Regions from separate parts of the Homo sapiens genome. Here all the other regions are linked to region 2. The links are contacts of gene promoters, found by promoter capture Hi-C in blood cells and fetal thymus (Javierre and others, 2016). All regions are on one chromosome and are shown on one strand. Each heading gives the region's core, a stretch centred on a gene start or on the middle of the fragment in contact. The rest is flanking DNA. Distances are from core to core; before and after follow the strand shown. Region 1 holds the start of LOC124901349 (a long non-coding RNA gene). Region 2 holds the start of LCA5 (lebercilin LCA5). Region 3 overlaps SH3BGRL2 (SH3 domain binding glutamate rich protein like 2). Region 4 has its middle 85 kb from the start of SH3BGRL2.

The links. The method cuts DNA at HindIII sites, captures the fragments that hold promoters and counts their contacts. A CHiCAGO score of 5 or more calls a contact.
Region 1: a contact is called between a fragment that was not itself captured here and the fragment with the promoter of LCA5 in region 2, in 3 of 17 cell types (activated CD4 T cells, monocytes and M1 macrophages). The highest score is 6.6, in activated CD4 T cells.
Region 3: a contact is called between a fragment that was not itself captured here and the fragment with the promoter of LCA5 in region 2, in 1 of 17 cell types (erythroblasts). The highest score is 5.4, in erythroblasts.
Region 4: a contact is called between a fragment that was not itself captured here and the fragment with the promoter of LCA5 in region 2, in 4 of 17 cell types (megakaryocytes, erythroblasts, naive CD8 T cells and 1 more). The highest score is 7.8, in megakaryocytes.

Annotation. Positions count from the first base shown.
Region 1 is chr6:79,774,876-79,780,628 of GRCh38, reverse strand. LOC124901349 (a long non-coding RNA gene) reads right to left here and starts at 2,781. Exons shown (of 2, transcript XR_007059655.1): 1 at 2,680-2,781; 2 at 1-2,594. The HindIII fragment of the contact is 6,716 bases long and covers 1-5,586 here.
Region 2 is chr6:79,533,504-79,539,163 of GRCh38, reverse strand. LCA5 (lebercilin LCA5) reads left to right here and starts at 1,734. Exons shown (of 8, transcript NM_001122769.3): 1 at 1,734-1,999. It also overlaps a transcript of SH3BGRL2 not described here. RefSeq lists enhancers at 117-690, 1,221-1,270, 1,265-1,838. The HindIII fragment of the contact is 3,782 bases long and covers 776-4,557 here.
Region 3 is chr6:79,698,441-79,704,574 of GRCh38, reverse strand. It overlaps SH3BGRL2 (SH3 domain binding glutamate rich protein like 2), which reads right to left. Exons shown (of 4, transcript NM_031469.4): 4 at 920-5,077. The coding sequence ends at 5,066. Among named protein-coding and RNA genes, the nearest start is that of SH3BGRL2, 70 kb to the right of the region's middle. The HindIII fragment of the contact is 5,171 bases long and covers 2,280-6,134 here.
Region 4 is chr6:79,712,951-79,718,891 of GRCh38, reverse strand. No RefSeq gene overlaps it. Among named protein-coding and RNA genes, the nearest start is that of SH3BGRL2, 85 kb to the right of the region's middle. The HindIII fragment of the contact is 6,207 bases long and covers 1-5,733 here.

The sequences.
Region 1 (5,753 bases), core at 979-3,478, 240 kb before region 2:
TTGCTAGTAGACACCTGATATATACATATGTAATAGGTATCAAATATATATATGTATATTTGTTGTAGTAGGAAATGAGTGAATGAATCATCACTGCATCACTGTTCTTCATTTCTCTTTCACTCATCCCATTCTTTTACACTTCATCATTACCTTCGAATAATCTGTTCTCTTCCACAAGACAGCAAACATTATATAGCCAGCATTATAGTGGAGAAAGATACGGGAACGTACAGTAAGGAAGTAAAGAAGCCACTCCCAGATAAGGGAAGCTAGACTAAAGTCTCACTACATACAGCTGTTGGGTTGAGATTTTCATCCTCCATCTTGCCACTCCCAACAACACTTCTTTCAAATCAAGAGTTGATAGAAGAGAAATGGAGGCTACTGCCTCACAAACCATGTTGTTCAAATTCTGCTACACCTCTTTGGGCTTCGATCTCAACACCGCCATGCTGCCTCTCACCAAGATTTAAAGAAATACAGACAGGCTTCACCATCTTAGAGGAGAACCAAATCACCCACCTCTTATAAGAGATATCAGTGTGCTGGCAGAGAATGTAAGGTTCCTATCATGTGTGGGTACAATTTTGTTTGCCCTGTAATATTTGCTAGCAGGCGTTCATGCATCCCTAAGTGCTTGAGGAAGAATGCTGAATTCTACTGGGCATTTGTTGGTAATGCAGGAGAGAAATTGCAGCTTAGCCCTTTCCTATATTACTCAATAGGAGCTGAACCCCCATGCAGAAGAGCACAGTTGTGGCTATGGTTGACTGGGGTATGCACCATGCATTAGCCCACTTCCCATTTTCAATCACTTGCTCGCAAGGCCACACTCTTGCCTTTATCATCATTTTGAACTATGCCACCAATGACATCTTAAATTCTACCAGAGACACCCAATGTTTATACACAGCATCCCCCACTCTCACAACTCCTACTCAGCCTCCTTTCTTCCTTGTCAGGACCTCCCAGTTCTGTCTGCCCTCCTGGACCACAGAATCACTCCCTTGAACCACAATTATCAGCACTTTCTTCACTTTCTTCCCTGGTTACCCCTCTGCCACACCCATGCTTCCACAGCCTCACCCAAACCACCTCATGCTTTATCTATTTTTGCTGCAGCATCCCATATACTCTGGGAGCAACATGGATATGCCAGCCACACTCCTGCTACATAGCCTTTATGCTGGCTGTTCTCTCCACCAGATTGCTTGTCCTCCGTAGCAACGTGGCCAGCTTCCTTCAAGTCTTTGAGGTCAATGAGAGCTTCCCTGAACACCTTATTTAAATTCTAAGTCACAAGTCCCTCACAACTTCTGATATCCCCTATCCTGATGTGTCTATTTCCACACAGCATATCACCCTCCAGCATTTCATTTTGCTTACTAATTAATCTTGCGTCCTCCCAATCTTCAGTCCTCCTCTCCTTCTAGTATTTAGGAAATACTGGAATATTTCCCAAAGGCAAGGAGTTTTTTCTATTTTGTTCACTGATGTATTCTCACCTCTTGAAACAATGTCAGCACACAGCAGATGTTCAATAAATATCTCTCAAATACATAAATGAGTGAACGATTGGTTTCCAACAACACATAGGCCCTCGTACAAGGCTCAGCCACCTGGCCTCTCCTTCTGCAGTTCTCTTTACCACCACACATGGGCTTTGCCCTTCATATTCTCCTTCTCATTTTCACATATGACATTTGTATCTATCTCATAATGAAAATAGGGAGGAAAACTGGCCGCAGGCCTGCTAAGTTCCCTTCCCTCGAAAAGCATTTTTATTTCTACCCACTTTTGCTCTGCCTTTTCTCCCTTTGCTCTGCCTCAGCAATAGAGGTATCGGGCCTTCCTTTCAAAGTCTGGCCCTTCCATCTGTGCTTCTGGTCATCTACCCTCCTATTTTTTTTAGAAGGGAGGGTGCTAGGTCCATTTTCTGGTAAACTAGTGGGGTTCGCCCCCTGAAGGAAGCACCATGCCTTCTGTGCGAAAAAATAGAGGATTTTCCACACTCTGGGGTTAGAGGGAAAAGCCCTAGAGAGGCAGGAGTTAGAGCTAAGGCGGCCAGAGTACGTGCAGCCCAGCGAGGGCCCCTTTGGACCCAGCCGTGGAGATTCTGAAAGTGTGCTGGGGAGGGTGCGAAGGTTGGAAGGTTCGGGTCGCTGAGTACCTGGAGCTCAGGCCTAGGAAGAGAGGGCACTGTCAGGACAGGGCAGAAAGCTCTGAAAGGAGTAAGCCACGGCGGGACTCCAGAAGAGGCAGGACGGCAGAACTCCAAACATCTTCTCTTCCTATGGCGCCAGCAGCTCTAGAGCAGGGGTCCAGGTGGAGCCCCGCCCCCGGCAACCTCACAGGAGTGTGCTCTTCCTACCTAGCCCCACCGGCCCCGACTTTCCACGGTCGGGAAGGCCAGCGGCCGCCAAAGACTTAGTGCCACCTTGTGGCCACAACAGCAACTGCAGCCGCGGAGCCCGGCGTGGGCGGCTCCCTGTCCCTCCTCCGCGCATGCTCAGGATCCGGTAACCCTGGGTTTGGGAAACCCCCGGGTGCTCAGTTTGATCGCAAAGAGGTAGAGAATGGAAGGGGAGAACCTGGGAAGGGATAAAGACATTATTGTAATAACGAAATGGAGACTCCGGCTATTCTGAATATTAAAAGAGATGTGCTATTTTATACCTGGCATCCTAGTGAAAAATGAAATCTCTCTTGGGTTTTTTGTTTCTCGTTTCTACCAGTTCCTTCCATCTCCCCCACCATGAACGTCAGCCAGTTCCCTTTCTAAGAAAAAGAAAAAAGAAAAAAATGTTACTGAAACTGCTACCCCTTGAGATCAGTCTTGTTTCCTTTTTCCTCTTTTTAAAAATTATGGTAAAATACCCGTAACAGAGAATTCACCATTTTAATGATTTTTAACAGTGTAAAGTTCAGTGGCGTTAAGTACATTTACATTTTTGTGCAACCATCGCCACTGTCCGTCTCCAGAACTTTTTTGTCTTCCCAAACTGCAATCCTGAACCCATGAAACACTAACTCCCCATTCCCTCCTGCCCTCAACCTCTTGCAACCACCGGGCCACTTACTGCCTCTCTGGCGAGTTCACTACCCATCAACCACAGCTTTGCTGAGAAGCCAGGATAGGGAAACATGTTCCCCCACTCCAATCTACATTTGTTTCTAAGTGGTGGTAGGCTTTTTAGGTCATCTTTATTTCTTCATGAAACTTCTCTGTGTTTTCTTTCTTTTTTCCAATAAAATTGCTATTTTTATTTTTAAAAACACGGATAACCTTTTGAAGAAAGAGATGGGTAGGTGTTTACTAAGCAGATGTCTGGGTGGGTGGGGAAGGGCATTCCAGGCAAAGGGAGCGGGAAGCACAGAGGGCTGGAGGGGGCATGAGGAGGGTGGCGTCTTGGTGGAGGGCAGCTTGGTCAACATGACTAGAGTTTGGGGATTACAATGAGGAAAGAGGAATCAAGATATCAGGCTGCCTGCAAAGTGGGCAGAAGTAAGATCTGAAAGGCTTTGTTTGCCACGTTAAGTAGTTGGCCTTTTTAGGCAATAGGAGAAAAAGGATTTTAAACAGAGGAGATACTTGAGCAAAGACTGCTTTAGAAATGAGACTCTAGTGTATGGATTGTAGTGAATGGATGGAGAGGGAGAAGGAGATGAGAGTGGATGCAAGTTAGGAGACTGCCACAATGGTCAAGGGGAGGAGTGCTGAGGGCCTGAGATAGGGAGGAGAGGCAGAGAGAGGTAAACAATTAAGAGAGGCATTAAGAAGGGGAACTGAGGGGACCAAGCAACTGCTAATCTATTAGGGAGTGAGAAGGAGAGGTATTTGGCTGGAGTGACTGAATGGATGGTGGTGTCAGGCACTGAGTTAGAGAATGGAAAAGCGAGAAGCAGATTTCGGGGAAAAGTCCATGAGTGCACTTTGGGACATGTTGAGTTCTGGGTTCCTGGGGGTCACCCAAGAGAAGAATCGTTAGGTACAGTGATTATATTTGCAGGTGGAGAGTTCATGAGAGATCTCTAGGCTAAAGATATAAATAAGGAGTCAAGAACATATGGATGGTGGCTGAAGCCATGAGAGTGAATGGGGCTACCAGGAAGAAAGCCCATGTGCACAGAGGAGAGAAGATACCTTAGGGCAAAGCTCTAGGGTATCTATTAAAGGTCTTTAGTTACAAGTAAAAGAAACCAGATGTAGTAACTGTAAGCACTGTATAAAGAATAACTTATTGGAAACCTGCTGCATAGGTCACAGTATAAACAGCTGAATACTCAGGCCGTGAGAGAACAGAGGAAGGGAGCTCCAGGGTCTCTGGGGAGAATTTGTGGCTTGCCATCTAGGCTGCTGCCATCAGCTGACCCACTTACAACTGCTCCCCACCCCCATGTGTCCGCACTCCAGACTTACATTCCTTGGAATGATCATCTGATTTTCCCTGCCTGTGTTAAATTTCCCAGCCTGAAGTGAGGGGATCAGGATCTTGTATCAATTCCCCACCAAAACCCCAGGAATTTTGAGTGAAACCAGGGAAGGCAACTGAGAAACAACATCTAGAGATGGAGAGGACCCAGGAGACAGCAGTAGTCTTGAAGCCTGGGAAGGAGTTTTAAGAAGGGAGGGATATGTTGTATCAGGTGCCACACACGGGGCCACATTTACCAAGATGAAGGGTAAAATAATAAATTAATTTGGCAACTAGGAAAGCATTGATAAGTTTTTCCCTAGCATATCTGGGGAGTACAAGGGATAGCTAATGGCAGTGGGTTGAAGAGTGAATGGAAAGAAAATAAATGGACTGAGTGTTAACCACTTTACCAGGGAGCCTGGTGGTCTCATGGGGGGAGAAAGATGGTAGCTACAAAGGCCTATATAGTAAGGACAAAGATTTGTTAGTGGCAGTGATGTGAACGTATTTCTAGCTTATAGGGAAGGAACCAATTGGAGGAAGATGTGGAAAGTGGAGGAAAACAGTCAAGAGAGGACTCCCGGCTTCAGTGAGGTGCCAGGGAGACACAGATCATAGGTTACTTTAAAGCAGACACATTTTCCTCTAAGATTGGACAGAGAGAGGTGAGGATGAGTACCTATATACAAGTATGTTGTCATCCCATTTTTTTTTTTAAGGTACCTGTCAGTGTGTGCCTGTACACAGAAACCACTGTATCAGAAACATGTCTGTATTTATTGTCACGTGACTAGATATGGTACAGGGCGTTTTAAGGCAGTTCATTTCTGAGCCTGACTCCCTCGGTTTTATTTCTCAAGTCAGACCCATAGTCATCTGCTGGCATTGTACAAGTGGCCAGGTGACAAGTAGTTTAGGGAAAAAATGTTCTATTTTAATGTCTATGTAGAAGCTATGTACTCTTTCATCATGACTGTGTCTCAGAGAAATGTATTCAGGCATTGTGTGACCTGCTAGTAAGATTAACAAAAACGTTAAGGGAAGTATAGCAGTCTAGGGAGTTGGCTATTATTAAGACAATATAGAAAAAATAAATGAAACTTTCAGAATAGACAGTCCAGGGAGTGATCATGGGAAAAGTTTGCCTAAGTAAGGAATGGAAGCTTTTGGGCCAAAGAAGGTCAAGAAAAGTTTAAGGCCAGGTTTTAGGAGATTGTCTAGGGCAGGGTATCATAGATGCCCACAGGGTTCAAGCAGATTCTACAAACGCAGGAGGCAGCTGTGCCTTGTCTTCCACAGCACATTGTGGAGACCACACAGAAAGGACTAGCA
Region 2 (5,660 bases), core at 485-2,984:
TTTTCAAGGTCAAACTGATACTGTTATTTTGAATATGAGGGGGTGAATAAAATTGCACACTGTAAGAATCCTGAGACTATGTTACACACAACTAGACAATTTTTTGGATTCTCCCAGCGTCTTAAATATTTTCTTGCTTACCAACAACTTCTTAACCTGTAGGTGAAACACAATGAAGGCACTAAATCCGAAACCACGAAATTTGGAAGCAGACCTAGGCTTGTACTCTGGCATTACTACTTACTACTTTCGTACCTTGTGGTAGATACTTTAACTTCTCTGAATCTGCTTTCTCAAGTATAAACAATGAATAACAATACCTGTCTGGAGTCATGAATGAAGATGGAATGAGATTACACTGCCTGGAGCATTCTGAGTGCTGAATAAATGGTGGTTTCATTCTCAGCTCTCCTTCAGCAATCCTGATCTGACGCTCCTGTGACAGACATTTGTCCACGTAAATACGGTATGTTTTCTGATTCTTCCTAGCAACTTCCTTTATAAGTAATCCACCCATACATTTACATGTTAATTCTAACAGAGTCCATAATAACGAGTGAGCTATTTTAACAGTGTCAGCAGAGACAGATTAAAGAATTGATGAAAAGTAATTCCGTGCAATTTAGGGATTACTCATCTTATTTTCACTAACAGATGACTGCCATCTTGTACAGATGTATTTCGCATACAGAAAATTACATTTAATCACAATATTGTTTGGGTGGGTTAGTCTGTAACTTGAAGTAAAATGTATTGACAGGATAAAATGAAAGCTTTGAAACAGTGCAAAGGTGGAAAAACGAGGTTGAGCGAGAAGCAGGAATTACCAATCTTCATGGTTAGAAGATTCATTAAACGCATTTGCCTTCAAATATTAGATTCTCTACAGAATGGTGGTAAAAAGGCCAGTGAGAAATTAACAATAGTGAGAACACCAGAGTAGTGTTAAACCACCTTGATAATCAGATGGCTCGGAGCAGTTTAAAGCCCTCACGAAAGAGGATTTTTTTTTACCTTCCCTGTCTCCCGCAATTAATGCCATTTCTAAAAGAGAAAATATGTCACACATCAGCGCTCAATAGGCTGACATGCTCCTCAAAACGTTCCTTAAAAAAAAAAAAAAAAAAAAAAAAAAAAAAAAAAAACTTGTGTGCAAATATTTCAGATGCCATTCCACCCCAAACCCGTTCCAAAACCTAAAAATCACTTTCAAGCCAAACTCACGGCTCGTTGGTGATTCACAGCCAGGATCTCGAGGCAGGAACAATAGTGCACTCACCCCGCATCCTCCTGAATCAGCCATTTCGGTAAGAAGATCCAGAAGCACTAGCAGTTTGTTTGTAATTTGTTTACAATTTAAAAGCAAGTTATTTCCCAAAGGAAATCTAAGCAATTGTTAAGTGTTTTACATTACGCAGTCGCCAATTTTACAATTCATATCATGAACCCACTTTGCCCTCCGCCCGCGTCCCTCTCGGAGCCCACGACGCTCAGCAGTCGAGCCCTGGCACCGCACAGCCCGTAGGAGCCTGGAGCGCTCCGCGTTTTGCCCCAATTTCCCTACTTGGGGGTCTCCGCTACAGCTAGAGCGGTCGGCCAATGGAGACCTTCTCCCGCACTCGCCGTCCCGCCTTCCAGTTCCACTGAAGCCAATAAAAAGGGCCGTCTGGAGACAGAAGCCAATGGGAGCTCGGGTAGAGTCATCATGATTGGCTGCGGTCTCTTCGTAGTGCAGTCTAGGCCTCCGCCTCCGTTACCCTGGAGCCCAGGTTACCGCCGCTGCCACCCAGGAGCCCCGATCCTCGCCTCTGTCCCATCCTTGTGTTCAAACCTCCCGCATCTCGGCAACCTCGGCACCCGCCCGGCAGCCTCCGCAGGAACCAGGCACCCGCTCTTTGGCGGTCAGACGCCGAGGCCCCAGCTGGGAGTTTGGTCCTAAGAGGGAAGGCAAGGAGGCGGGACGCCGCATCGGCTCTGCTGAAGAGCCTGCGGGTTGGAGGTGGGCTTTGAAGTGGGCGTGGAGACGGCGGGGGAGGTGGAGGTGCGAGGTGAGGCTGGGTTGAAGCGTCTGGTAGCTAGTGAAGGGGCGTTCGTGGATGGGGGCCTGCGGGTGGTTCTTAAAGCAGGGAAGATGAAGGGATTAGGGATGGGGGAGGATGTAGGGACCGCGAGGAGAAGGAAGACCTAGGAAAATGAGTAAAGAGCTCGGCTTCTGAGAGGGTCCCGAGGAAGGGAGGTTGACCGGCACTGGGGGGACTGGGAAGTTAGGAGGAGAGGAGCTGGGAAAGGGTATTTACTTCCTGGGACCGAGAAGAGAAGAAAGGGAGCAAGCGGATCTAGAGAAGTGGTTGTTATTAAAACAAACAAAACAAAAACCCCGGAGGCCCGTGGAGACTCAAGACTAGAGAGGAGGGGCAGGGCCAAGGGCCAAGACGGAAAAGGAGGCTTTGGTAGCTCTCGGATAATAATAGATGTGTTATTATTAAAACTGTGGTTAGAGTGGAAAGCCGTACTTGTCCAGGCTGTGATACTTCTATACATCCTTCAGGGATGGGATGAGAGGAGTAAAGATGGTTAGAAATAAAAGAAAAAAGAAAGTGCCTTTTTGGCATACTCGAGTTGGAGTCGGTACTCAGATACGTGATGTTTACGTTAGATAGACCGTGGGATAGTGTTTAACAGTGAAGAGCCCTGGTCCAGTTCATCTGATATAAACCCCTTTTTTGTTCACTTTGTTCTTTGGAAAGTATACTTGGGCACATACATATTTATTCCCCTCCTTTATCTTCACGTTAAGAACTTGCATTAGAGATATCTTTGCAATCAGAAGTCATCATTTAGTTTTTGGCAGAGGGAGTGGCTATATGTGTTTTAGAATGGTAAAACCGATGTTTCCAGTTCTTTACTCATTCCCTCTTTCTTTTGCATGGTTATTTTAATCTATGTTTTTTTCCAGTTGTTCCACATTTAAATTCTATATTACCATTTTAAATATTTCACTTTGTGATTTCCCATGTTAGCTAGTATGTTTATCCAAATAAGTTATAGGAAATAATAGTTTGTTTTGATTCTCTAAGTTGACAAAGTATCATTTTAAATATCAAAAAGTAGTTTGTGACTTTGGAAAAGAGATTTTTCTTCTTTTGTGAGTCACATCTCTTCCGTTACACATATTGTGGAACTATAATTCTGTAGGACACAATGGAAGCCCATTAAATAAAGATGCTACCCTTCTCTTGGGTTCTTCATCTGCCTGTCATTCTTCAACTCCTTTGTGGGATCTTCTTCCTCGGCCCACCATATTTCATTATTGTTTTTCCCAATAATCCAGTCTTCAGTCTTCCGTCTTCTATTTTTTACTCTGTGTTCTTGGCTGTGTTCTTCCTCTCCTTTGGCTTACACTATTTGTGTTTTATTAACACTCTCCCAATTTTTTATTTCTGATCTGGAACTTTTGAGTTACTGTCAAACTTTTGTAGCTAATTTTTGGTATTTCCACATAAATTTCCTATCCATAGGCATCCCAAACTCAGTATGTCCAATATTGAACCCATCACCTTTCCCTGCCAAAGCTGTCCTGCTTGAATACCACATTCTCCTAATTTTGCAAGCCCAAAACTTTGGAATTTACTCAAGTTCTTCTCTATTCTCAGACTTCATATTTAATCTGTCACCAAGTGTAGTTTATCTTACTTGAAAAACATTTCTGGAATCAGTTCCGTACTCTGTATCTCTAGTTATACTACTTTCAAAACACTGTCTGTCAGTGATTATCGAGACCAATTGATATTCTTCCTCCAGCTTTCCTGCCCTCCAATTCTTAGATTGGAGATGGATCCTTGCAAATGTCAGATCTGATAATATTAACCCTACTGAAGAGCCTTGGTTTCCAACCAACTTATTAATGACATAGAGATTCTTCTTGTGATATTATCTTCCACCCGATCCAGTCCCACTTATTATTACTTTAGCACTACTCCCCAGCCAGTGCCATCCTTTTAAACTAGCATTGTCCATTTGAAATAGAATGTGAGCTATATCCATTTTTTTCAGTAGACACACAATAAAATACAGGTGAAATTTTAATGTATTTTTAAGTCACATATATCCAGAATATTATTTTAGCATATGTCAATGTAAGAAAGATTATAGAAGAGCTATTTTATGGTCTGTTTTATGTACTAAGTTTTCAAAATTCCACATGTATTTTACACTTGCCGCATATGCCAATTCTGAATAGCTACATTTGAGGTGCTCAGGAGCCACTGTATTGGACAGCACAGTTGTAAAGTATTTGCAGTTTGGTGATATGCCATGCTTATCTAATGCCTTTTACTTTTGCAAATGCTGCATCCTCTTATTGAGACAGGGTCGTACTTCACTGTCTTCTTTTTCTAACCTCATTTACCCCCCCACTTTTCAAACACACACATCCATGAAATTATAATTGTGCTTAACCTCTGCTAATACCGTAAGACTCAATTTAGGCATTATCTCCTCTAGAAACCTTCTCAAACTCCCTCTGTCCTCTAATCTTAGTTCTGAGTTTACTAAGCTTTCTCTGCTTCCTTTTATCATTAGTACTTATAGACTGTCGCATTATTTTTTTTTCCTCTTGGTTGGGAATTACTTAACGGTAAAGGATCAGTTGTATTTTACTCATTTTTGTATCTTCAGCTCCATCTATAATCTAGCGCCTGACATTTCATAGGTGTTCAGTAAATGTCTTATAAATGAATAAATGAATGAATGAACATCTTAGGATGTTTTCATTTGACTGACTAAACTTTGGGAATATGTACTGTACTTAAGATGTTTTAATTTGATCCATTGTTTAAAATGTTTAAAATAAGCTGATTATGTCTTACATTTCAAATGTAGCATTTACTGTGATCTGATTGATCATATTTGATCATACTTTAAATCCAAACTTTATTTTTTGTTTTATTTTTAAATAAAAATAGTTTGATTTTTAAGCAAGATTATGTAGATAAGTAGTATAATAAGGAAAATGCTTATAAATACGTGGGGACATGTTATTAGAAGAAGTGGAACACTTTACTTCATTTCTCCTTTGTGGAAGAGGAGCAGTTACAGTGTAACTGCTCCTCTTCCACAAAGGAGAAAAACCAAATGTAGCAATATGGTTTTTACTTTTATCTCATCTTTTTTGCGGGGAGGAGAAATGTCCTTATTTATATCTTTCTCACTGAAGTTTATTTACATTTTATTTGCCTAGTTGTCTGTTTTGTGAACTCTTTTGCTGGTAGCAAAGGTAGCCAGTCAGCAATGTTTTATCTAAAGAAGCTGAGCACAGGGATATGTCAGGAAATTAACGGTTTGTTGATTTTACAGTTTTTTTTCTTAAAACTAAGATGGTTTCTTAGAGTCAGACGAATTAGATATCATTATGATATTTATATACAATGGACTCTACAGCTTAGATTTGTTTTCTGATTCATTTGTAATCAGAGATAAAAGAAACTTCTGGCACTCGAGGATCTTTAGGTTATCTTCTTTTTTTTTTTGACCTGTTATGTGTAATTTTTACTGTTTGGGACTTTTTACTTTTTTTTTTTTAAAGGAGAGTTTACTTTTGGATGAACAATGTCAAGTATTAGATTTGGTAGCTTCCTATTAATTGCTGTAGTAGCATGTTT
Region 3 (6,134 bases), core at 3,616-6,115, 160 kb before region 2:
CTATATAAAGGTTTCTTGTTGGTGAAATTCTGTAGCAGAAAACTAGATTATAACATTAATAAAATTAATTTATTACTAAATAACTTCAACTGATGAGCTTTAAAATGGAGTCAAAGAAGACACCCTTCTAGAGCCCAGAGGAGCTCCCGAAGTCAACTGTTGGCTGATATGCTGACAAGGTAAAAAATAGCACACAAGAAAAAAATATATATATGTATTTAACTTTATTTTCTCCAAATAGAATAAAGATTCACATGCTTAGCATATTTCTGGAAATGGCCTCAGAAAAGTTTTCTACTCTAAATCTGGTTTCTCTTCACTTTAATGATTAAATAAATGTCGACCAATTAAATATTAAATATAAAGAAACTTTAAAAATTAATCATTAAAACACAACTCAATAGGAAGAAAGGCAAAAGACATGAAGAGGGATTGCCAAGAAAAAGAAACAAGAATTCCCATAATAAAACATGTTCAACTTACTAATAATCAAAAATTTACAAAATGAAACCACAATGAGGTAACATTTTATACTCCCCAGCTTGGCAAAAATGCAACTCTGACAATCTCAAACATTGGCAAAGATTTAGAGTCCTGCAAATTCTAGTATACTGGTGGGGAGCATAAATTAGTACTCTGGAAAGCAATTTGGCCTTATCTATTAAAACTGATGATGTGCTTTTATTGTATAAACCAGCAATTCTATTCAAGGTATACATCCATTCTTCAGTATGTACACCAGAAGTCACATAAAAGAATATTCAGAGCAACATTACCTTTTTCTATTTCAAACAAAGATGCAGTTCAATAAGCACCAGCTGGAGAAGAGAACATGTGATATATTCATAATGGAATAATATTTAGCAGTGAAAAAACTCCGATGGCAATGAACATAAAAAGGAGGTGACAGAAGAATACATTCAGTTTAATTCCATTTATTATTCTTTAAGGATACATACATGGAGATAAAGTGATGAAAGACAAGAAGGCTATGGTCAACACAAAGTTCAGTACAGGGGTTCCCTCTATCAGACAGGGATAGAGATAGGTTCAGGAAACCGCACACGGTACCTCAAAGGAAAGGCAATAAGGTGGGTGGTAGGCACACAGGGGTTTGTTTATTGTCATTATTATTACTCTTTATACTTTAGCATATATATTATATGTGTATATACATATCTATATTCCATTGCATGTATGAAATTTTTTAAAAATTCAAATGGCTTATAACAAAAACAAATTATGTATAATGTCTCAAATGGTGAATCACAGCCTGGAGGCTCTTAATTTACCTCCACTCTATCATTGAACCCTGGCTAAAACTGCTGCTTTGTTTCTATTCCCCTCATACTTGAGAGTAGAGATATTGCCCTGCTCTGACAACACTTACCACATTTTAGGGGCTTGATCCATGCTGACAGAAAGGATGAACAAACAAACCTGACATGTATTTCTAGAAGAACTAGGAAAACTCTGAAGATTTGAATCACAAGTAGGCAGTGATCATTTTGGTTTCACACATTTCTGCAAACCTACAGCTCGTTCCCTCTGATCACTTCCTCCACCCTCCTTCTGTTCTGGTGCGTAGGGCTTGAAATCGTTCAGTGCTGAGATCAACCTCAAACAATGCCTTCAGAAATACTGTTTTCTTCTGCTTTCTGATGTGGCTGCTACAAAGGTAATAGGGGCCGCAGCCACTCTGCCCTTGTCTTCTGCACCCAATTCAGAGAACATGGCCACCAGCCTGTGGCTTCAGTGTACTCAGGAGATCAGTCATCCATTTGAACCACCCCACCCCACCCAGGGGCTGAGTGATTTAACTCCATCCTCAGTCCTGATCACTGTCTGAGATGAATCTGTGGTGTCCTCCCAACACCCTCGTGCAGGACCTCATGTCTGGCTCCTTGAATGATCACACGATCTGTTTGTATTTTTACAATTTAATGTGCTGCTTTCATGCATGAGGTTCACAGGCAAGAGTAAAATCACAGCCTCTCAACTAAACAGAACTAAAATTAAGAGAGGTGTGAAAAATGGCAGGGAACAAACACTCCATTTTCAGAATATGTGTTTTCTGGAATTTATTCTCCTTTATGCTGAATATAAAATATGTGATTTCACCAATGCTTTAAGAGACAAACACATACAAGTTGAAATCTGAAAACAATAATTATATGGAGCAAAGTGCAGCCTGACACTTAACAAAAGCTGTTAAATGAAAAGTATCTCTAGAAAAAGCAAAACCCCTATAGTAAAATCAAACACAACAGAAAGAAGCTTTGGTACTTTTCAATAACGGGAGACAAAAAAAAGTTTAGTTTATTATTAAATTCATGTAATATAAAAACATCTATGTGGAGGTATTGAATTAAATCTATAAAACAGAAACAAATCTAGAATATATTAGAATCTGAGGTGAAAAAATACCTTGCTTTCCTCTTCTTTGATTGTAATAAAACACCGGAATTTGGAAAAACAAGTATTTTCCCAACTAAATTTTCTTCTGGTCTGTACTCACCTAGCAGGATGGCACTCCATATTTTATCTAATTTTAAAATGGCATAAGTTGATTTTTAGCAGCACATTTCCTTTGCTCCAGCAAGCCTACTACAGGAAATAAAAATTCTGTCTTGAAATGCCCTTGATATGAAATCTATGCCTACAATTCCCATCCACTTCTTTCCTAGTATTTTAAGACTGTGATTATCAAAATCTAAAGGCAGCTAGTTAAAGAAGGGAACAAGAAAATCATTATTATATGTTTCAAAATCAGCTGATAAAAGAATACAAGTAAGGACCCCATATTCTCTGAGCTAAGTGTGGTCCCAGAGGGCAACATCTTGGTACTCTGTGGAGCCTGGGTACCATGTAAATGCCACACACTGTGCTGCTGCCTCACTCATAACAAGTACAGCACCACTCGAGACTGGTCTCCTGTATTTCTTTGCTGATCAAAAAAAAAAAAAAAAAAATGGGGTGGGGAGATGGCACATAACTGTGATGGTAATTTAGCATTACTACCCACTAGTCTGTTTACTATAATCATAATAGGTATACTACGGTTAACTCAAAAATTATAATATAAGACAAATCTGGGTAGCTTTGTCTAGCAAGTATGGTATTGATCCTATAACCCCAGCAGTTAACTTGCAAAGCCTCAACCTTACCAAGTTGGTTCTTGGCACTCACTAGCAAGAGTAGACTAAATGTTAGCTGAGTAATGAATTACAACATGACAATTTTTACAACTGCTTAAAAAGAAATTCTGAGTTTTATCAGAAGACTCACATACTCAAACACAATATCCAGTTAAAAAAAAATTCCTGGATAGTCCCTGGGATTTGTCAAATGGAATTTGACCTGGATCTTACTTAATGACAACTAACCAGTAATATCCATAATTTGACAACAGCTTCCCTTGAAGAGAAAATTGTGGATCATGTGTCCATTCTAGTTAAGTAGAAATCTGTCATACTTTCCTTCTGGTTGTAATCCTGGACTACAAATCTCAGGTTGGGATTTCAGCCTTAGCATTCAACAAGTTCTTTAGTCTACATTTAGCAAGGCATGGGGCGGAGTGCTGGGCACATGTGACAGGGCTGTAATTCTTCTGCTCTTTCAATTTCTTATAAATTTCCTGCTCAGAATTATAATGAAAAGTCCAGAATCAGGATGCTAGAAATAAAATATTTTAGGCAGCCCTCTGAAAATTTATCCTATTCAAGGCTGTTCCCATGTTTGGCAATTTAAAACTCTAAGTTAAAAAAAAAATTAAGCATCCCTGTTATAGGGACAAGAATGCAGAAAAATAGCCTCTGCTCTAATGAAGTAGATATGTTCGATGTTCATCAGCATCCACTCCAATAGGAGTATAGATTTTGCTTGACAAGTACAATTCCGGGTTACTCTCTTTCTCATGTGTGTTGCTCTGAAACCTTACTTGTGCTCATATACGGAATGAGAACAAGTATCTGTATTACTCTGAAAAATATGAGGCTGTACATTGGCCAGAAATATGAGCAAGCAAAATTAGAGGCAAATGAAAAGTAACAAAAGGAAAAATTAAATTTTACTACAACATTGGTATATTTTAATATGTCTAATCAAGGGTTCACAAAATATATCTAACTGAGATTTTCCTTTCTCAAAAAATATAGTCCCTTCACAAAATAGAAGCAGCAGCTGTCTGTTAGGGGAGCTGGATTAAAAAATATATGAACTTATATATTATAAATAAATTGCTAGAGCTGAAAATGCCTTCAGATACTCGTCAGATAATTTTCCTATATATTCACTAATTAGTGCACCACTTAAAATATATCTTTCAAGCAGTCTCAGGCATTTGGGTGAAACTTGCCCCTTGCAAGAAATAAAGAAGCATATATTTCAAATAGCAATTATTGTCATCCCAGTAACTTAGTTCTGATCACTTGATGTTACAACAGGGATTTCTGGAAACATCTGTAGGATAATATGTGGAGGTAAGAGTTTCCATTACTAAAACAAGTCTAGAATATCTAACTTTTTCACCAGGTGTTATTACAAAGCATGGGAACTGTGATGTTTGTAACTGATTCTGCAGCAAAAATCTTCAACACCCTTTGTCAACCAGCGCTGCTTTTTTTCCTTCTGATTCAAAGATTCTAACAACTTGGCAGACATATTTCAAAGGTGCAATCCAGGCAGCTTAAAGAGAAGTGGGTTTACGCAATTCCGGCATCTACTATAACCTAGGGCAGATCCAACATTTTCTCTCTGACGGTGCTACCCACTTATCTTTCAGTCATTAAGAAAGTACACCTGTAACAGGTGACGGTATTTCCAGGTGAGTGAGGCAACTGCAGGCAAATAGAATAAGAAAAAAAAAATCCACCACCTGATTTGGTTTAAAGCAATCATGCAATTCTCATTATAGCCACATCTTTCAAAAACACCTTTTCCGTGGCAAGCAAAGTTACTGATAATGCGTGTGGCTTTTGTCACAGTGATGCATTAGGTAAGCATGTGTGTGCTGAGTACCAGGGGTGCTTCAAAATGCATCTCCGTCATCTTCCACTCTTCTTCTCTAAGGTTCTGCCTATAAAAAAAAAAAAAAAAAAAAAAAAAAAAAAGTCAGTTATTGCATTACATCGACAAGAAAATTCACCCTTGGCAGGGGTTTTTTAAATGTCAGGAACAGAGATGTTGGAAATCATAACAGATCACCTCCATGTGATTGATAAGAGAAAATCCTGGGTTTCAGCATCAGAGCCCAGATTTAAATCACACCCACCCGACCTGCCAAATATAAAAGTGGAAAGAAAGCCGCATGTTTTCAATGACCTACTGAGATTCCTCTCAGAGGTACTGTTCCACTTGTGTATGGCTGGGTGGGGGGTTACCTTGCTCAGAGGGCCTGCAGAGATGCCCATTAATAGCAACCCAAGATGAAGAACCACTCTAGAACGACCATATCTGTTAGTAAAGAGTCGCTGCCCCAGTCCCCCAACTGCCACCCCTGCGCACCCTCCCCCTTGAGCCAATGGATAAAGAGCTGACATCTGGCACAGGGGGCCTCTGTGGCCTGCTCAAGCTCTGGCCAGTCAGCACCCAGTGTTGACCGGTTGTTACCTACTTTGGATATTACCCCTGAAAGCTAGGGATCTGAAAGTACAATCTTCTATGACAGGCCCTTCTTGGGGTCTACTAAATTTTAACTTTGATGGTTTTCTACCTAAAAAGTATCGGTGAAATGGCCTCCCTTTCTCAGAATTAGTTGGCTATCACAATGGGCCAGCCACTGTGGGCTCCAGCCAACTACAAGGGAAACTGAGATCCCCCCACCACCCCCACCAGGGATTCCATACCATCTAATATTTACATACTTTAAAAAACCTCTTCACAGGACAAACAACATATCCAGGGCCAATGTGGCCTGCAGGCCACCATCTAGAGACCTCTAACCTACCTTTGCCCCTCCCACTATGGAGGGCAGCCCAGTCAGAGCCTACACTGCACCTGGGCCTGTTGGGCCCATGAATGTCCTCTCCTACCAAGTAAGAGCAATTATAGGTGCTAATGATGTCTTTATGTTTCCTGATAGGCTTTGTTGCCATGTTTTTTATGTGTGTATACTACACAGGGAGTAGGAAAGG
Region 4 (5,941 bases), core at 1,381-3,880, 180 kb before region 2:
GAAAGAGGAGTAAGAAGAGAAACACTACTTGGTGCAGTGAAACACACCACCCTAAAAATTTAGTGGATTAAAACAACCACAGTTTATTATAATTTTTCATGATTCTGCAGGATATATCAGCTCGGCTGGGCAGGTCAGTTCCACATGATGTCAGCTGGGATTTCCCGTGTGGGGAGGCTGGCTGGGTCTCTCCACGTGGTCTGTCACTATGCAGTAGTCTAGCCTGAGCTCCTTTACATGGTAGCTGGAGCCCAAGACAGTGAAAGAAAAGGCTGCCAAGTCTCATAAAGCTCAGGCCTAAAATTAGAACTTCCACCACATTGGACCGGTCAAAGTAAGTCACCAGGCCAGCCAGATTCTAAGGGACGGAAAAGAGACGTTCCCTCTTGATGGGGGAAGTGGTCTGTAGGTACGAGGTGGAAAAGTGTATTGGCAGCTGTCTTCGTAGACAGTCTACATGCCTAGAGAAGTAAAATGATTGCTACGAGGACAAAAAGTAGTAATGAAGTGGAATCCAGCTTTTTGTCCTTTTGGCACTAAGAACTCCAGTCTGTATCTGTCAGACTCCCATTCCTCTCCCTCCAGCCACTCAATCACTTGCCCTTGTAGAAAACTGAGAGTGCTGGGAAAAGGGGTGCCATCTACTCTCTGAGACTGGGCCAGCCAGGGTGGAGCAACCATGGCAATCATGTTCCACGGTCTAGCCTTCAGCAGTGCGGGCCTCCAAACTGAATGAGAAGTGTCAAGAGCACTGCACAATAAAAGAGTAAACATCATTTAATATAGTTGTATTATTTGGAGTGTGTTGTGTCTGTGTGTATGTGGTTTTGATATGTGATATATTTCTCACTGTGGCTCATAGTCAAAAAATTTGAAAGCCATTTGCTTAGAACATAGCAGGTGCTCAATATGTGTGGCTTTGTTTCCTGGGTAGAAGATCCCTGGAAGCATACATTTCTTTGAAGATACTAAAGAGTAAATTACTGTGATTTAAAAAATAGCTCAATGTAGCTCGCGGAATATGATAAATTAATACTTAATTAAGAACCTAATGAAGCCTCCCCAGTTTCTAATACACTAAAGAATTACACCTGGGAGTGAAATGCAGCGAGCTTCCAATACACTGTGTAGCATGAACAGCTGACTGAGAAGCTGTTAGTTGTATAAGACAGTAAGAAGGCTTAACTCCACATACCTGTTCTTAATGAGACAGCACAAAACTTATGTCGTTCTAAATGACCAGTTTAAAAAGAAGATTCACTCCTTTCTTTCATCCGTTTTCCTTCTGTGAAAATCTTTATAGAGCCTTAAGCATCTCTGATCTCCATTTTCTCAGTTTTTACCTTATTGCTGGGCTCCCCATGTTTCAGTGGGCTTTTATAAGATTTCTGCCAAAGCATCCTCATGTTTAAGTGGCTAAACTGCTTCCATGAGAGTCCTTAAAAATAACACCTGCTACTAGAATTATACGTGTCCCAACTTACATTGCTTTTAGTAAATTTCTCTGGCTACCACTGGCCCTATTCTATTTCTATTCACTATTGCTCAATTTCAGTAATTATTTCTGAATTTTTGGTACATTAATAATTAAGGAATTCTCCCCAAACTCCCAGAATGTCAAATCTAAAGAATATGCTCTAGTGTTCATTTGACCTGACCTTTCTCTGAGACTTTCTTCCCCTTGGCTTTCCATACAATGCTTTCTACTGGTTTTCCTACTTCTTCAGATTTTACTTCCTTTTCTGTTCTTCAGAGCTTCCTGAATTGTCACAGTCACGGTGCTGTTCAGTGGTGAAATTATCCACCTGACTGTTTCACCTGTGCTTCAAACAATCTCAGGATGTCCAAAAGGAGCTTCATTAAGCTCCCTGTTTTGGGTAATTGCATCTGTCAACCAAGCTAGAACATTTGAGTCCTTTACTCTCCATTTCCCCAAGAGTTAATAAGACATCTCCATGGCCATGACCCTAGTTCAAACTCTTATCATCCATAAATTAACTTTCTAAATGGTCTCTGAGCCTTTATTCTTCCCCACATCACCTTCTCCCATACCTCATCTTCTCTTCTCACTGCCAAACTCTGTGATTTCCTGAAAACACAAATGTGATTGCTTCACATTCTTACTTTAAATCCATCAATGCTTTTCAATATCTACAGGAGTGCTTCTCACACATTAATGTGACCCTGAATCACCTGGGGATCTTGTTAAAATGTGCTTCTAGCCTGGAGTGGAGTCTAGCAAGGTTCATGTGATGCTGCTGGTCCTCGGACCACACTTTGAGTAGTGGGGGTTTATAGGTTAATTTTCAAATCTTATAGTATAGCATACCAGGCTCATTACAATCTAGTCCATTGCCCAGAATACATCTGTGATACCTCTATCATGTGTAACCTTTATTCCACCTCGATCCCTTGCATATGCTATTGCCTCTGACCAATGCTGTCTCCTCCCAGCCTTCTTCCCCAGGAAACTTCCTTCTACTGATTAATTAGTTGGTTGATCATTCATTCATTCATCCATGATTGATCTTAAGAATGACCTCCTCTAACAAGACCTTTCCGGCAGACTCTCCAAGATAGAATTAGGTAAGTGTCCTTTCACTGTTTTAGTAGCACTTTCATCCTGGACACTTTTCAATTATATCATCTGACATAGACAATAATGGAGCTGCTTACACATATATGTTCCCCACCCTTACCCTGCAGCCACTCTGTGGTTCCTTGAGGGCAAACTCTATCTTACTCTCTTTGTTTCCTGCAGGTCCAGCACAATGCCTGGCACAAAATGAGCTTTCAGATATTTATTAAACTTTGTGCTTTACTTATGAAACGCCTCTCACCAACGTTGCAGGCAAGGGGTCTGAGTAGGTCAGGAGACTGAATTAATTGACCTTCACAATTTCCTAGCCACATTTCTTATATCTTTTGTCATTCAGGAAAATAGGCACCAGCTGTAGATTTGTCCATATTAAAAAGATAAAAATCAAATAAAATTTCCCTAATAACAGAGAAATAGATGTTTTACAAGCTGTTAGTATGAAATGGTTCAATAATATCACATTTGTTTCACATTTCTTAACAATTCACCTTTGGGTCTTTATCATGGTGATCTTTTTTTCTTAATAAAAATCTCACTAAAATTTTCATGAGGCCAGTGGTGAGAGAACAGAACTATATTAAGAGCCTTATGAAAAATATATTATACATCTTTCTCTAGAAACTGTCTTTTAATAATTTCATTGGATCATCAACTGCTTATCTTCATTCTAGCTTTGTAGCTCCTTTTTCTTTTATCATTAGAAGTGGCTAATAAAAAGGTAGATTAAAATACATTTGGCTGTTTGACCAGGTTTGAACATAATTTCCAACACCATGAACACTGGGAAGCAATGTTTATGTAAGAGAAGATCAACCTCCTCTTTTTTGAGCCCAGAACAGATATTATCAGAGGAAGAACAATCTTTCTTAACACAGTTGAGCCATTAGGTACAGTTTCATCTTCTGCCACTTTCAGCAACACAATCCAATATCTTGTTAATCATGGAAACTGCTGAGCTGTTTTATACATTTCTATACTTTAGCATATGCTCTTTGCTCTGCTTAAAACTCCCTTTCCACCCATCTGTCTAACTCTTCCTGATTTGTCAGACTTAAGTCAAATATCACTTGCTTGAGGTATGTGAACTGATTGCCTCAGCTGAGCTAGCCTCTTCCTGAGTTATCTGTAGTCTTTTGCACTGCCGGAAAATCTGATTTATTTGCATGACCCCAATCCCATCCCATCAGAGGCAGAGACTTTATATCTCCTGTGCCTGGTTACGTGTAGGCTTATATAATGCTTGTGGTAAGTGGGATATAATGCCTTTGCCCTCCTTCCCTCAAGCCCACCCCCAGAGAGATCACGTCCCAATTTCTGGCACTTGTGAATGCATCGCCTTACATATGCAAAAGTGACTTTGCAGATGGAATTAAGGATCTTGAGATGGGGTGTTTATTCTAGATTATTACGTGGGTGGGCCCAGTGTAATCACAGGGGTCCCTTTAAGATGCAGGTAGGAGTGTCAGAGTCAGAGTGATGCAGCCTTGAGCCAAGGCTTATAGGCGGTCTCTAGAAGCTAGAAAAGGCAAGGAAACGGATTTTCTCCTGGAGTCAACAGAAAGGAAAGCATCCCTACAGACACTTTGATTTTAGTCTGTGAGATTCATTTTAGACTTCTGACCTCCTGAATTCCAAAACATATTTTCGTTGTGTTAATTAAGCTACTAAGTTTGGGTATAGGAAACCAATAAGGTGCTCGATTAATGTTCTTTTGCAGAACGCATGAATAGAAAAGTGCCTCTGGGCTCATCTTCTCTGTCATTATGTTCTATCTCCCTGAGCAGCATGGAAAGCCCAGGTGAAGGGAACCCCAGGTGATGGCTCTCAGACCTGACAAGAAAGGTACCTTTCACACACCCATGGCTTCTGTCCCCAGCGTTCTGCTGGCCCAGCTAGCACAGCAGTGTGCTCCGCACTACAGCACTCCACCAAAACGCAAAGTCATGTTTATGTGCGTATTTTCTATTGCTAACCAATGCAAAATCCTGTGATTGGTGCTATAGGGAATCTTATGTGGTCTATGATTTATTTTAAAATTCTCTAGAACTCCTTGAGAATGAACACTGCAATCATGTGAATTGGAGCATAATGCCTCTGGCCATGGGCTCCTGCTCCCCGTCAGGTCTCCCCCTCCTTGTTCCCCCTAACAAAAGGAGAGGAATGCCCACCTCCTTCCAGAACCCAGGTTTCCTGACCCGCTTAAGTAACTTTCTGAAATACTGCAGCTTCCCCTTCCCCAGACCTTCATTTCCAATTTAACATAAATAAATCTCATATACTATAATAGACTTTTTTAAAGGGTAGATTTTATTTTCACAGCTATCTTCACAGGTTTTTTTATTTACCACGGTGAGGGTTAAAATGCAACACAAAGCCCACCCTGTAACTATACTCAGAGATGAGGCCTCTAGGTGTCGCTACCACCCAAGTCCTGTTATCAAAGGGCACTCGGCTGTACACATATGTGCCACACATTTAGTATTTTTTCAAGATTATACAGCAAATACATATATTATATATATATATATTTAATCACAGAACCTCACCATTTTCTTCTGCTCCATACTAACTCAAGTTTTTTGAGCAAAATTCTAACTGAGAGTAAATGATATACCTGATTACTTTTATATATTGTTCTTTAGTTCTGTTTCCCATGTCAGCACTAGAACATTCTGGATTTGCTTGACTATCAGAAGTATTTGTTAAAGGTGCACCCAGTTCCACAGACACATAAATAATTGTTTTTTTAATACAGCACTATTTTTTTTTTGCGGTATTTTCCCTTCCACTAGATTTGCATGCATTTTTTGGAAACAACTATGAGTTGATTTGGGTTTTTGAAAGCAAGTGGCAGCAAACATTAAAGGGCAGATGCACTTAGAGTTCTGGAAATACCCTGAAACTTCACTAGTCACTAACACTTGGTCCTTTCCCATTCTAAAATTTCAATTTATAAATGTAAGTGTATGGTATTTTGAATCTGAAATGAACGCTGGGTGGGAGAATTTAGAAGAGTTTGGAAAGGATGAAAACCTGCCCTCCAGTACCCCCTTTTCTGATTTCATGAGAATGTTTCTACACATTGCTAAATTTGGAAGACTTGCCTGTCTTGATTTGAAAATATGCGACAAGCTTTTACAAAAACCGTCAGTTCCATTTTTCCTCTTTATGCTAGAATTGTTTCCTTTTTTCATGAGTGTCCTTATTTATGCCATGGCATTGCATGATATTCTTCCTATTACACTGATGTGTAATTATTGCATTTTACTTCTGATGGATGCTGTAGGTCACATTTCATAGCCTAGGCGGAGACCTGAATAATTGGAATGTTTTATTTAAAGA